Regions from separate parts of the Homo sapiens genome. Here all the other regions are linked to region 3. The links are contacts of gene promoters, found by promoter capture Hi-C in human tissues and cell types (Jung and others, 2019). All regions are on one chromosome and are shown on one strand. Each heading gives the region's core, a stretch centred on a gene start or on the middle of the fragment in contact. The rest is flanking DNA. Distances are from core to core; before and after follow the strand shown.

Region 1 (4,361 bases), core at 1,480-3,979, 150 kb after region 3:
ATTTCCCTGCATCCAAGTGCCTTTATAAAAGGGACCCATAGAAAGCATCACAGCCCGGCCAGGGTCTGTATGGAAGACGCCTGACTTGTCACCAGGAGTGAGGCAGAGTGTCCGGGAGATGTGTCCCCCAGAGACCCCCCCCAAGAAAAATCCCAGGGCTGAGAAAGCACAAGAAGGCCCTAAGCCGGCACCATGACATGGGGAACCTGTTGGGATCTGGAGCCTGGTGCTCCTTCTTGGGGGGGCTGACATGACTAAGTCGGGTCCACAGCCTCTTTCCCACACTCACCCATTCCCTGGCCACCCCTGCCTAGTGCAGCACCCATGTCACCTGGTGGTCCCTGTGGGCACTGCGTCGTGGCCGGTCCCGAGGGGAGAGGCCATTGATCTTGCATTCGTAGCAGGCTTCAGACGAGAGCAGCTCCTCTTTGTCCGGGGTGTCCTGGGGTCCGGGGCTGAAGCCCAGGCCGGAGACACAGTGCCTGGGCCAGGATGGGCAGGGTGGAGGGGTTTCAGAGGCGGGCTGATGGGACCTCCCCAGCCACGCCGCTCCACCCCATACTCCGTTCTGAGTCATGCTGCAAATGCCCACGCACACAAATGCCTCTGAGCATGTGCTGGTGTGGCTCCGTGTGCACGAGTGTGTGTGCACCACATAAGGGTGTGCATGTGTGTCCCTTGGTTCATTTGGGCATAGGTGTGAACACAGGAGTGAGAGGACGTGCACAGGCTGGGATGGATGAATGGACATGAGCATACCCAGGGGCATGTGCGTGTGCCAACCTGTGTGTTCACATGGGGAATAACTCATGCAGGCACATGTGTGCTCGTAGGAATGTGTGAATCTCCCTGAGTGTGCCTGGGGATGTGTGTATAGTGTGAGCACTCACAGATGGCTGACGCGTGCTTCCTCACCTGTGCAAACCAGGATGTAGCAATGGCACTGTGCCCCCAGGGATGTGGGCATGCATGAGCCTGAGTGCACACTGGGACATGCGCGCGTGCACACACACACACACACACACACGTGTGCATGCTGGGATCTGTAAATGCACAAGGGTGCCCACGCATGCTGGTACGGGTGTGTGCCATGTGGACAACTACATGTGAGTGCTGTGAGGATGTGTGTGAATAGATACAGGTGCCACTGTACCTCTGCGTGTCCAGGACTCTGTGCATATGTGGGCAAATGCCTGCATGCACAGGCTGAAGGAGCTCTTCTGGTAAATTCTTGGCATGCACAAAGCCCCGTGTGTGTGTGTGTGTGTGTGTGTGTGTGTGTGTGTGCGTGCGTGCATGGACGCTTGCGGGGCATGGAGTCTGCTTGCCCCACTCCAGCCTCTCACCCTTGCCCAGCCCGGAAGTAGCCTTGAGGACAGCCGCACAGGAAGCCACCAGGCGTGTTGGCACAGCTGTAGCTACAGGGGCCACGCCGTCCGGCGCACTCATCCACCTCCTGGCAGCCCCCGAGGGCCTGATCAAAGTCAAAGCCAGAGGGGCAGACGCAGCGGAAGCCACCAAGAGTGTTGCGACAGGAGGCGCTCCCGCAGGTGGGGGGCGACAGGGCACACTCATTCTCATCTGTGGGAGGAAAGGAGGAGGAGAGGGAGGACGCAGAGGTGGGGCAGTGCAGCCTTCACACCCCCAGAGCCCTCCACCTGGAATGCTGTATGTTCAGAGCCCAAGTCCAATGCCAAACTCTTCAGCAAGCTGGCAGTGAGCCCTGAGACTAGATCGGCCCCATAGCCCCGCTGCCCCAAACCCTGTGGTTCTCCTTCACAACATCTCTCAACACTTCCCCTAAACCCCAAAATGTGGGATGATCTAGAACAAGCTTTCTCACCCTCAGTGCTATTGACACTTGGGGCCAGATCATTCTCTAGGGAGGAGGCCTCCTTGCACTGTGGGACATTGAACAGCATCCCTGGCTTCCACCCGCTTGACACCAGGAAAACCTATCCGCCTCCAATTGTCTGTTTGGAGTTGGGAGTCTCACTCTGTTGCCCAGGCTGGAGTGCAGTGGTGCAACCATAGTGCACTGCAGCCTTGACGTCCTGGGCTCAAGGGATCCTCCTGCCTCAGCCTCCTGAGTAGCTGGGACTACAGGTGTGCACCAACATGCCTGGCTAATCTTTTAACTTTTTGTAGAGATGGGGGGTCTTGCTATGTTGCCTAGGCTGGTCTTGAACTCCTGGCCTCAAATGATCCCCCTACCTCAATATCCCACAAGAGTGAACTACCATGGCGGATCCCAATTGTGATGATCAAAAATGTCTCGCAGACACTTCAAAATGTACTATGGGGGTAAAATGGTCCTCTGTTGAGAACCTAGTTAGGGGTCTAATTAATCTCTGTTTCCTTTGCTGGACTGAAAAACTCAAGGCAGAAATGGTTTTTCAGCTCACTTCTGCATCTGAGCTCAGGGCCTAGTGAAAGGCAGGTCCTTGGCAAACAGTTGGGGAAAGAATGAATGAGTCAGTACGGGGGGAGGAAACAAGTTGAGGAAGAGTTGCCAGCAAAGGCCAATGGTCTGTGGGATCCCCAAGATCCCCAGGGGACAAGCAGCTTGCCTGGGGGGTGGGGTCGTGTGGTGTGGGAAGCCCAAGAAGAACTTAGCTAAAGACCCACCATGACAGACAAAAGGAGGGGGCAGAGAAGGCAGTGCCTGTGAGGCAGTGGGAGAGCAGGGATAGCCACATCACAAAGGCCACAGGAGAGAGTGTCCAGGAGCCTGAAGGGGCAGACTGTGGTGCCCAGAGCAGTGGAGGTAGAGGATGGAGGCCGAGGAGAGGTCTCAGGAGAGAGCAAGTGGGCCTGAAAATGGTAGAGGGTGAAAGCTGCACTGCAGTGGAGGAATGAAAAGAGCAGTGAAAGAGGCTGCTAGGAGGTCCTAGAGCAGCCAGAAGATGGGGGAAGGTTGGGGGGCAGAAGGCTAGCCCCCCAAATGGAGGGCCTCTGCAACAGCTATGGCAATGACATAGCATGCACACCTCCATTGCCCCTTGCAGCATCCATAGCAGACATCACTAATCACACTCGTGGCAGACATCACTAATCAATCACAGCACTCTTTCCCTGTGATCACAAAATTGCAGACTTCAGGTCTCAGAATCTTTCTCAACTGAGTCCTCCAGGCCACCATGCCCTAAGGAATGAACTCAGACACTTTTTGATGCTTATTCTGCTGCACCTTGACTCCCCAGCAGTGGGGAACTCACTACCTTCTGGGCTGGCCTGTTCAATCTTTAGATAATTGTGCTTGTCACATCATCTTGCAGGGTGGCGTCTGTTAGTCGCCTGCTCTGAGCAGATTCTGGTGGAGGGCCCAGCTTCTTCCCAGCCCTTTTCACTCACCCACACACTGGGCCCACTGGGAGTGCTGGGTGAAACCCTGGGGGCAGCTGCAGCGGTAGCCCCCTAGCTGGTTCTGACAGCCATGCTGGCAGCGGTGGGGCCCATCACATTCATTCACATCTGAGACATAGAGAGAGGGAGAGAGGGTTTACCAGACGGCTCTCAGGACCAACACCCCCAAACACTAGACCCCAGCCAAAGCTGGGCTGTACCTTCACAGCCATGGCCTGAGCTGACCAGGGTGAAGCCTTGGTGGCATTCACAGCGGAAGCTGCCCGGGGTGTTGTGGCAGTGCCCGTGGGCACCACATGGGCCAGGCTGGGCTGAGCACTCATCATTGTCTGCAGAGGAGAGAGATCAGGCAGGGTTGCCTGCTGGTTAAGGAACTCGTGTCAGGTGACACAATGCCAGTCCCACCACTGTGTGGCTTCAGGCAAGTTGCTCACCCTCTCTGTGCCTGTTTCCCACTCTGTGAAATGAGATCTGTAACAGTTCCTGACTCAGAATAGGCACCAATGTTTGAGATCCTGCACATAAAGAATCTCATCTCCACCGCCTCGAAGCTGTGTGTCCTTGGGCAACTTACCTACCCTCTCTGTGCCTCGATGTCCTCAGCTGTATATGGAGATGATAATGTCTACCTCATTGCATTTTTGTGTGCATGCGAGAATTAAATTAACCTAATCATGTAAAAGGCTTAGGGCAGTGCCCGGTAAAAGAGTAAAAGATAAACAAAGCCTCTTTTCCTTCTCCCATGGAAAAATGACATAGGGTTGCCTGTTGAGTTTTGTTCCCATGGAAACCTGACAATAGTGTGAGGTCAGCCGGTGCCATGGATTGAATGTTCGTGTCTCTCCAAAATCCTATGTTGAAGCCCTAACCCCCAGTGGGCTGGTATTTGGATATTAGGTCTTTGGGAGGTGATCAGGGTTAGATAAGGTCATGAGGGTAGGGCTTTTATGATGAGAATAGTGCCCTTATAAGAGACACCAGAAAGCTTGCTCTGT
Region 2 (4,208 bases), core at 500-2,999, 180 kb after region 3:
GATGAGTGAGTGGATGGATAGGAAGGTGGATGGATAGGTGAGTAGACAGGCAAATGAGTGAATGGGTGGATAAGTGGATGGATGGATGGATGGATGAATGGATGAATAGATGGGAGATAGAAGATGGATGGAAGGGTGGATGAATGGGGGAATAGAAAGGGAGTAGGGAACGGGTGGATGGGAAATGGGTGGATGGATGAGTGGATGGATGGATGTATTGAGGATGGATGGGTGAATGGGGGATAGATGGATGGGTGAATAGATGGATAGAAGAATGAGAGATAGGTGGGTGGGAGATGGATGGATGGGAGAGTGGGAAATAGGTTAATGGATGGGTGAATGCGGGCTAGATGAAGGATGGGGGGTGGATGGATGGGTGAATGGATGGATACAAGGATAGCAGAGGGATGAGTGATGAATGGATGAATGGGTGGATGGGGCATGGTTGGATGGAAGGATGGAGGGATGGATGGAAGGATGGATGAATGGAAGGATGGATGAATGGGTAGATAAAGGATAGTTGGATGGAAGGAAGGATAGATGAATGGGTAGATGGGGGATGGTTGGGTGGAAGGATGGATGGATGGAAGGATGGGTGGATGGAAGGATAAATGGACAGAAGGAGGGGGGATGGATGAAAGGATGGAGGATAGATGAAGGATGGGGGATAAATGGGTGAATGGATGGATAGAAGGATAGGAGGGGAATAAGTGGGGGGATGGATGAATGGGTAGATGGAGAATGGTTGGATGGGTGGAAGGATGAATGGATGAAAGGATGAGTGGAAGGATAGATGAATGGATGGATGGTCGAGTGGAAGGATGGATGGATGGATGGATGGATGGATGAATGGATGGAAGGATGAGTGGAAGGATGGATGAATGGATGGATGGTCGGGTGGAAGGATGGATGGATGGATGGATGGATGGAGGGATGAATGGACAGAAAGATGGGGGATAGATGAAGGATGGGGAATGAATGGTTGACTAGATGGATGGATAAAAGGATAAGAGAGGGATGAGTGGAGGATGGATGAATGGGTAGATGGAGGATGGTTGAATGGAAGTATGGAAGTATGGAAGGAAGAATGGATGGAGGATGGCTGGATGGAAGGATGTATGGATGTACTGGATGGATGGAAAAAATGGAAGGATGGATGGATGGATGGATAGATGGATGAATGGCTGGATGGATGGGTAGAAGGATGGATGAATGGATGGAAGGATGGGTGGATGGAAGGATAAATGGACAGAAGGATGGAGGATGAATGGAAGGATGGGGGACAAATGAAAAGATCAATAAACCAACAAGTGGAAGAAATGGCTGAAAGAACAGATAAAAAAAATTAAACACAAACTAAAAGCATAGTGTGGTCCTGCTGCTCAGCCTCCAGGTGGAAAGATCTGCCCCATCCCAGGACAAAACTACTCAACTCTACACTTTGGTGAGGTGGGGATGAGAGAAAAGTCAGTCTCTAGGCAGACAGATGGATGGATGATCTGCCAGGAACTCACCTTCCAGAATGACAGTGATGCGGTTAGGCTGGAAGCCCTCACCACCCGGGCACAGGGTTCTGTACTCAGCTGTAAAGGGAAACAGGCTCCTGTGAGGTGGGGTATTGGGGCAAAGCTTAGGGGAAACAGGGGAGCAACAGCAGGAAGCCTGAAAAGGGCTCAAGAGTGGGCTCCCATCCTTCTACTGTACTAACGACATCCCCATATCTCTTTAGCCTCTTGGGGCCAAGAGACTTTGGCCAGTCCTGGGGCTGCTTGCGTGTGTGTGTGCATGTGCGTGTGCATGCGTGTGTGTGTGTAAATGTGGGTTCCCATTCAACATGTGAGCAGAGTTATGTGGTAGTGGCTGGGGGTAGGAGGGAGAGAAGATTATTCCTTCTGATCCAAAACCATATCCTAGTGTAACTGCAAGTTTTCCCCATGCAAGGAAGACCTTGGACATTCACACACGCATACACCTGAATAGGTGGACAGGTACCTCCCTGTTTCACACCTGAGGCCTTTGCACATACTGTTCTCACTGCATTGCACATCATTCCCCCTACTCTGCTAGGAAAACTCCTACACATCCTTCAAAACCTCACTCAAGCCTCCTCCCCTGGAAAGCCTTCCCCAGAGCTTTCACTTCCCCACAGCTTTCTCCTGAGCTATGGGTATGCCTCAAAGAAAACCCTTAGGACAGTTCTACTCTCACAGTCCTGAAACTGTTGATTTAAGGGTGAGGGAGAAGCAGCGTGCAGAGGCTGTGGCTCATCCTTCTCTGAGTCCCCAGTCCCCAGCACATGACACAGAGGAACTCTCAATATTTGTTGACTGACTGAGTGATCAAGTGACTATAAACACAGAGAATTTACAGAAAGCGACCTTGGAGAGAGGCCCAGCCAATGAACTACCAAGACGTACACTGTGTGACCCAGGATGAGCCCCTCTCCTCCCCCAGTTCTTGGTTTTCCTGTCGCCTAAGCCCCCCACCACCGCCATTAGCAGAGGTGACCCCCTAAGCTCCCGGGCCTCGGTGGCTTAGGTCACGGTGTTCAACTGCCCCGCAGGGACTCACTGGTGTTGGCCATAGGGCACAGCTCACAGGGATTGCCCCAAGCCCGGCCCAGGGAGCAACAGCAGGAAGCTCGGGTGACACCAACTCCGATCTCGGCACTGCAGGAAATGCCACTGTCCCCTCGGTCATGCGTCTCCAGGAAACAGTTCCCGGCCCGAGTGTCTGAACAGGCAGAAGGGGATGGTTAGTAGGTGTCAGAGGGAAAGCTGTATGTGTGCGTGTGCATGCATGTGTCTATTTCAACAGGTGACAAGGACAACCACTCTTGCAGGAGACCAGCAGATGTCCCGTTTGTCAGGAGCAGGTAGATTTGAACACGTTGACATCTGAGTTAACCCAGTGGGGCAATCCCACCCACCTCTGCTGACCCCAGAACCCTGATCTGGAGTTGAGCATGGACTCACCCACGCAGCCCACTCCGCTGGGGTTCAGCTCAAAATCCTGGGGGCAGCTGCAGAGGTAGCTGCCGGGGGTGTTAATGCACACGCCGTTGATGCAGTTTACTGGGTCTGCACACTCGTTGATGTCTGTAGGGAGGAAGCGCGGTCCTCAGCAGGGAGCCCCTTCCTCGGCCCCCCTCCCTCCTAGCTTCATCCTGGGAAGCTACAGCCCTCGCTCAAGGTCAACTCCTGGGCACCAGATTGTGGGACAATGTCATGTCCTTCCCTGGGAAGAAACCTAAGGGGACAGGAGCCTCCAGTCTGTCCTGTCCCCTCCAACCCCATTCCCTCTCCTGCTCTGTTCTGCCTGGCAGAGTTTTGTTCATTGAACTCTACCTGCCCTGGGTTCCATGCAGTCAACATATGAAAATCATATCTATTTTATTTCCGTAATTTATTGATGTTTAGAGACAGGGTCTTGCTGTGTCGACCAGGCTGGAGTGCAGTTGCACAATCACGGCTCACTGCAGCCTCAAACTCCTGGGCTCAAGCGATCCTTCTGCCTCAGCCTTTGGAGTAGCTGGGACTACAGGTGTGCACCACAATGCCCAGCTAATTTTTTATTTTTACTTTTTAGAGATGAGGTCTCGCTATGTTGCTCAGGCTGGTCTCCAACTCCTGGCCTGGAGTGATCCTCCCACCTCAGCCTCCCAAAGTGCTGAGATTATGGGCATGAGCCACCACTCCCAGCCAAAACCCATATATAGAAAATACTTTCAAACCATGGGTTAGCAAATTCCAACCTGTAGGTCAAATCCGGTCCACCACCTGTTTGTGTCAATAAAGTTTTATTGGTACAGGGGCCACATTCATTCATTTACATATTGCTTGTGGCTGCTTTTGAGCTACAATGGCAGAGTTGAATCATTGTGACAGAGACTGACTGTGTGGCCTGCAAAGCCAAAAATATTTACCACCTGCCCATTTCTAAAACACACAGAGGTAGGAGACCCTTTCAGCAGCTAGCGTGGAGGGGCCACTTCAATCACAGAACTTATTTAGCAGGCGAACAGGAACGGGAAATGATGGGGACATCAGGCAAGGCGCCCCCCACCCCCCAGCAAGACTGCAGGGGAGGATGCTTGAAAAGAGATCTGAGGGCAGTGAGGGAGTGAGCCATGTCCCCTGCCCCAACTCCTGCTCTCTCCTCTCCCCTTCCAGCCCAGATGACCTCACACCTGTGCAGTTGCCACCCCC
Region 3 (4,338 bases), core at 1,779-4,278:
TTTTCCCCCTTCCTGTACACCTCGGGGCCAGCATCCTCACCTTCTTCAACTGACCAGTCGTGGTTACTCCCTGCTGCCAGGTCCTTCCCCTTCCCGGGGGTATTCTGTGACCATGAATAAAGTTATCATTCTCTTTCTCTTTCACCTGTGACTTAAAGATGGAAGTGGGGGCCCTGAAGTGTCAGAGCTTGGGGGTCACAGGGCTGGGGGTGTGTGCCAGGGAGGAGAGCTGCCACCTGACTGGTGTGATGAGGCCTGGGGTGAGGAGCCCCTTGGTGACTGTGAAGCTGACAAGTGTGGATGGGGAGAGCCGGCAGGGCACCTTGGGGACAGGCGTCAGGGATGGGTTTCAGAGTAGGGCAAAATCACATCGCACAGGTGGAGGGGAGAAGGCAGCAGAGAGTGGGGGTGACCCGGTGGAAGGAGTTGAGCCCCAGGCTGGGCGGTTAGAGGAAGATAGATAGGGGTGGGCTGCCCCGAGTGGCAGGAGGCTAGTGGGAGTGGAGTGTCCCCTGGGGTGGCTTTGGGACCTCAAGGATCCCTAGAAGGCGGGGAGGGAGGGGTACTGGAGTCAGGGCTGACCCCAAACCCCTGGGGGTGCTGGGACCCCGCTTGAGGCCCCCTCCATCAGCTTCACCTGCCCTGTGGGTGTGGACCGAGGGTCGGGTCCTAGAGAGGGAAGCAGATGTCCTCCCACGGCACCGCGTCCCACGCCCAGCTAGTAATCCAAGTCGGTAAATTCTCCGTTCTCGGAGCCTGTGCATTCACCCAGCCTGCCTTTTATAGAAACGCTCATTCCTCCCCCCACACACTGCACACGGCTCCCCTGGGGTGCACATCTCTTGGGAGGGCCTTGGAGCACAGCCAGCCCACTCCGTCCGTGGTCACCGCCCCACCGCACCAGACCCACAAACGCTGCCAATGGTGGTGGGCAGGGGGAGGAGGCTTAGGCTGCAGGTACGGTCGGTCGTCGGAGCCTCCCTCCAGGGCTGGCAGAGGGTGCGCCTCCCAGTTCCCCACAGGGCTGAGTCTCTCTCACCACCCCCGGCGCCTCCCCAGATCAACAGAATTGTGTGTGGAGGGGAGGCAGCTGGGGGTTACACATCAGCCCCCCCCCCCAAAGCCGGTGAAAGGTGCTTGTGATCTTGGTGTCTTTGCAGCCCTGGGAAGCTTTAAAAACATGCAAAAGCCAGACCTGGGTTCCACTTCCAGCCCTACCAGACTCTAGCCATGTGACTGTGGGCAAGTCAGTCACTGGAGCTGCCTGGCCCTCGGTCTCCTGGCCTGTAGAATAGGGATGCTAACAGGGCCTGGCTCATTCTCACGATCCCGAAGAGGAGACAGGCTATAAACAGGAGGTGCCAACTCAGCACGCTACTTGGCATGCAGTAAGCGCTCAATAATAGCTTTTATTATCATGTTCGGCTCAGAGGCAGGGAGGAGTGGAACGGCATGGGAGGGCTGCGGGAGGCACGGCAGGGGGGTCAGGGGCAAGTGGCAGGAGGGCGGATGGGGGGCAGCGGTGGGCACCGGGGCAGGGCGCGCTGACCTGTCCTGGGGCCCGGGTTGGGGGCAGAAATGAGCCTGCCCACGCTGTCCCGCCACGGCAGGCGCCACGCATCCTCGACACAGCCGCCATGGCAGGCCTTCGGGCTCCGTCTCCGGGACAGGCGGTGCAGGGCAAATTGGTATGCAGCGTCCGCCCCGTGGGCCCGGGAGAGCCTGCCCCGCAGGGACCAGAGCCCAAGGACGGGCTCAACACTCAGTCAAGGTGGGGTTGACGACGGCCAGACAACAGGGGAGGGAGGAGGGACAAGGGGGTCCCCACTTCCAGGGACGCACAATAGCAGAGCCACTTACACGCTGGGGAGGGGGCGGTGCGGGGGTCCTCCTCCCGCCCGGGATTCAGAGTCGGGGGTGGGGGCCAGCCGGGCGGGTGAGATGCGCAGAGAGGAAGGGACAGGGCGGATAAAGGCACGAGGTGGGGCTCCGGCCAGGCCAGGAAGGGACATGGGAGGGGTCTCGAGGGGGAGGGGCTGGGCTTCTCCCAACTCCCTCCCCCTCTCCCCCGGGCTGGGGGCTCCGGGGCGGGATCCTGAGCGCAGTCCTGGCCCCGCGGCGCCCCCCGCCGGGCCGGCCCTCTGAGACCCCGGCGCAGGGCCGGCTAGGGGGCGCCGCGCCCCTCACACCAACGCGTAGTCGAACTGCCCGCGCTCGAGCGCCTCCTTGTGGTCGGTCCAGGACGAGGCGGGCATGCGGCTGTAGGGGTCGAGCAGGATGCGCACGCAGCGCACCATCAACAGCACCAGCACCACGAGCAGGCAGAGCACGAAGGCGAACACCGTGCGCTGCTCCGCGTCCAGGCCCGCGCCCACCGGGGGCCCCGTCGACGGCGGCAGGGGCTCCGGCGACAGCGTCCACGTCGCGCTCATGGCTCACATCGCCGCGCGCCCTGCGGAGGAGGGGACCCGCCCCGGGCGCCGGGGATGAGGCTGCGCCCTCCCTCCCGCGCCTCCTCCGCTTCGCCCCCTCCTGCCGCCGCCGCCGCCGCCTCCCTTAACGTGCCCGACCCCATCCCCCGCCCGCGCCTCGGTCCCCGGGCTACGCCCATGCCCGGCCCGCCGGATCGCCGCCACCACCACGCGGGGACCCAACTCTGGCCGTGCGCGCAGGTGGGGGCGCTGAGAGCCGGGAAACGGAGCCGCGCCCGGCCTGGGCCGCACACAACAGGTGCGAAAGCGCGGCCGCGGCCCGGGCGCGCGGCGTGGGGACGGTCCCCGCGGCCCCTGCCCCCGCTCCCTTTGTTCTCGGCGGCCTGGGACCCCCTCCCCCACCGCCCCCGCCCCGGCGCGCCCCTCACCCTGGCTTCGACCCGGACGGGGACCGACCGCCCGGCGGCCGCGCTCTCTCAGGGACCCGCGCCGGCTGCGCGTTCGGCCTCTCCCCGGCGGCGGCGGCGGCGGCCCGGGCTCCGGCTCAGCCCACCCCACCCGCCCCTGGAGCGGCGGAGACCGAGGCAGGCAAGCAGCGCGCGAGCCGGGCCGCCGCGGCTGTTCCTATGGCGACGGGGGCGGGGCCGCCGCGGGGGGCGGGGCTGCAGGGGGCGGAGGCTGCGCAGGGAGCGGCGCGCGAGCCAGCGACCCCGCCCGGGCCTGCGGGAGGACGGAACCCCAGCCCCGAGGACCCGCGAGCACCCACGACCTCGCCGGGGAGTGGGCAGCTGCCACTCCCACCTCCCCTGGCACTTCGGGCCCCCCAGCCTGCCCTGTGCCTGCATTCTCCTCCGCGATAGACCCCACTCGAGACTCCCTGTTTGTGGGGGGACCTCAGTGGCCCTAAAACACTCATATGGGCACTCAAGCTCCCCCGGCCCTGGGGACCTCAATTCTCAGAGAGCTCAGGCAGGTCACTGGGATGAGTAAGTCCCCCTAGTTTTGTCTGTCACTGGCCTCGTCTTCCAACTCAGGGTCCAGCCCTGGGCAAGGCGTCCACCCACTGCGGCTGCAGTTCCTCACTCGACCTTGACCGCCTCCCACAGCAGCCGCCTGCTCCCACCCCCACCATCGCCTCGGCCACTCCCGCGCCAGAGAAGACACTTCAGACTCCGTAGCTGCTCTTCTGCAATTCGGTGTTTTATTCTTTCCAAATCTCAGGCTTATGCACAAGATGGAAGAGCACTGTTAAAATTAAAAAATGGACCTAAAGTGGCTTGGCTGACGTGGCTAGCGGGCCACTGAGCCGCGGGTCCCGGGTCCCACCCTGCTGTGGGGGGAGTCCCTGGGCCCTGGGGCCTCTTGGCACTGTGTGACCTGTGTGCACCCCAGGTGACCAGGCGCCGGGACCCCTGCAGGGCAGAGCAACAGGGCAGGGGTTGGCCCTGCGGGGGAGTGTCTCCAGCTGCCGCGCACCCGCAACAGCCCGTTGTCCCCTCCCGGGCCAGCTGGTCTTGCAGCCGTCCTGGCAGAGCTGGGGGCAGAGCCCGCAGTCTTGTTCCCAGAGGTCTGGAGTTGCCGCAGGTGGTGTTGCGGTGCCTCTGTGCCTGATGACCCAGGCCGGGGCTACCTGGCTCCGGCACCACACTCAGAGAATCTGCTCGGTGCTGGAGGCCGAGATGTCCAGGAGCCGCCAGGCCGCGTAGGGGTTGAGCTCGTCCTGGTCTCGGCAGAGCGCCCACACGTACAGCATCCGCAGCACCTTGTCCTGCAGGGTGGGGTGGGAAGGGCACTGTTGAGAGGGTTGAGGTGACCCAGGCAGCTCTGGGGGGGGGCCAGGCTCTGTGGGGCAGGAGCCACCGGCAACTTCCCCAGGGGCTGGGAGCAGAGGCCAGCACAATTGCCT

What was found. The method cuts DNA at HindIII sites, captures the fragments that hold promoters and counts their contacts. A contact is called where the count stands out against the background at its distance.
Region 1: a fragment that was not itself captured here is called in contact with the fragment with the promoter of CTXN1 in region 3 in 1 of the 25 tissues and cell types used here (bladder).
Region 2: a fragment that was not itself captured here is called in contact with the fragment with the promoter of CTXN1 in region 3 in 2 of the 25 tissues and cell types used here (adrenal gland and mesendoderm cells).

Annotation. Positions count from the first base shown.
Region 1 is chr19:8,071,717-8,076,077 of GRCh38, forward strand. It overlaps FBN3 (fibrillin 3), which reads right to left. Exons shown (of 64, transcript NM_032447.5): 60 at 3,567-3,695; 61 at 3,355-3,474; 62 at 1,347-1,581; 63 at 332-482. Among named protein-coding and RNA genes, the nearest start is that of CCL25, 21 kb to the left of the region's middle. The HindIII fragment of the contact is 4,880 bases long and covers 290-4,361 here.
Region 2 is chr19:8,106,656-8,110,863 of GRCh38, forward strand. FBN3 (fibrillin 3) reads right to left here. Exons shown (of 64, transcript NM_032447.5): 34 at 4,190-4,208; 35 at 2,976-3,098; 36 at 2,572-2,733; 37 at 1,515-1,583. Among named protein-coding and RNA genes, the nearest start is that of FBN3, 41 kb to the right of the region's middle. The HindIII fragment of the contact is 6,298 bases long and covers 1-4,208 here.
Region 3 is chr19:7,923,107-7,927,444 of GRCh38, forward strand. It overlaps CTXN1 (cortexin 1), which reads right to left and starts at 3,029. Exons shown (of 2, transcript NM_206833.4): 1 at 2,861-3,029; 2 at 1,385-2,452. The coding sequence starts at 2,432. The coding sequence ends at 2,184. It overlaps TIMM44 (translocase of inner mitochondrial membrane 44), which reads right to left. Exons shown (of 13, transcript NM_006351.4): 13 at 3,612-4,200. The coding sequence ends at 4,081. It overlaps LOC124904629 (a long non-coding RNA gene), which reads left to right and starts at 2,299. Exons shown (of 2, transcript XR_007067120.1): 1 at 2,299-2,730; 2 at 3,467-3,704. SNAPC2 (small nuclear RNA activating complex polypeptide 2) reads left to right here. Exons shown (of 5, transcript NM_003083.4): 5 at 1-144. RefSeq lists silencers at 2,324-2,413, 2,944-3,213 and an enhancer at 3,710-4,338. The HindIII fragment of the contact is 9,564 bases long and covers 1-4,338 here.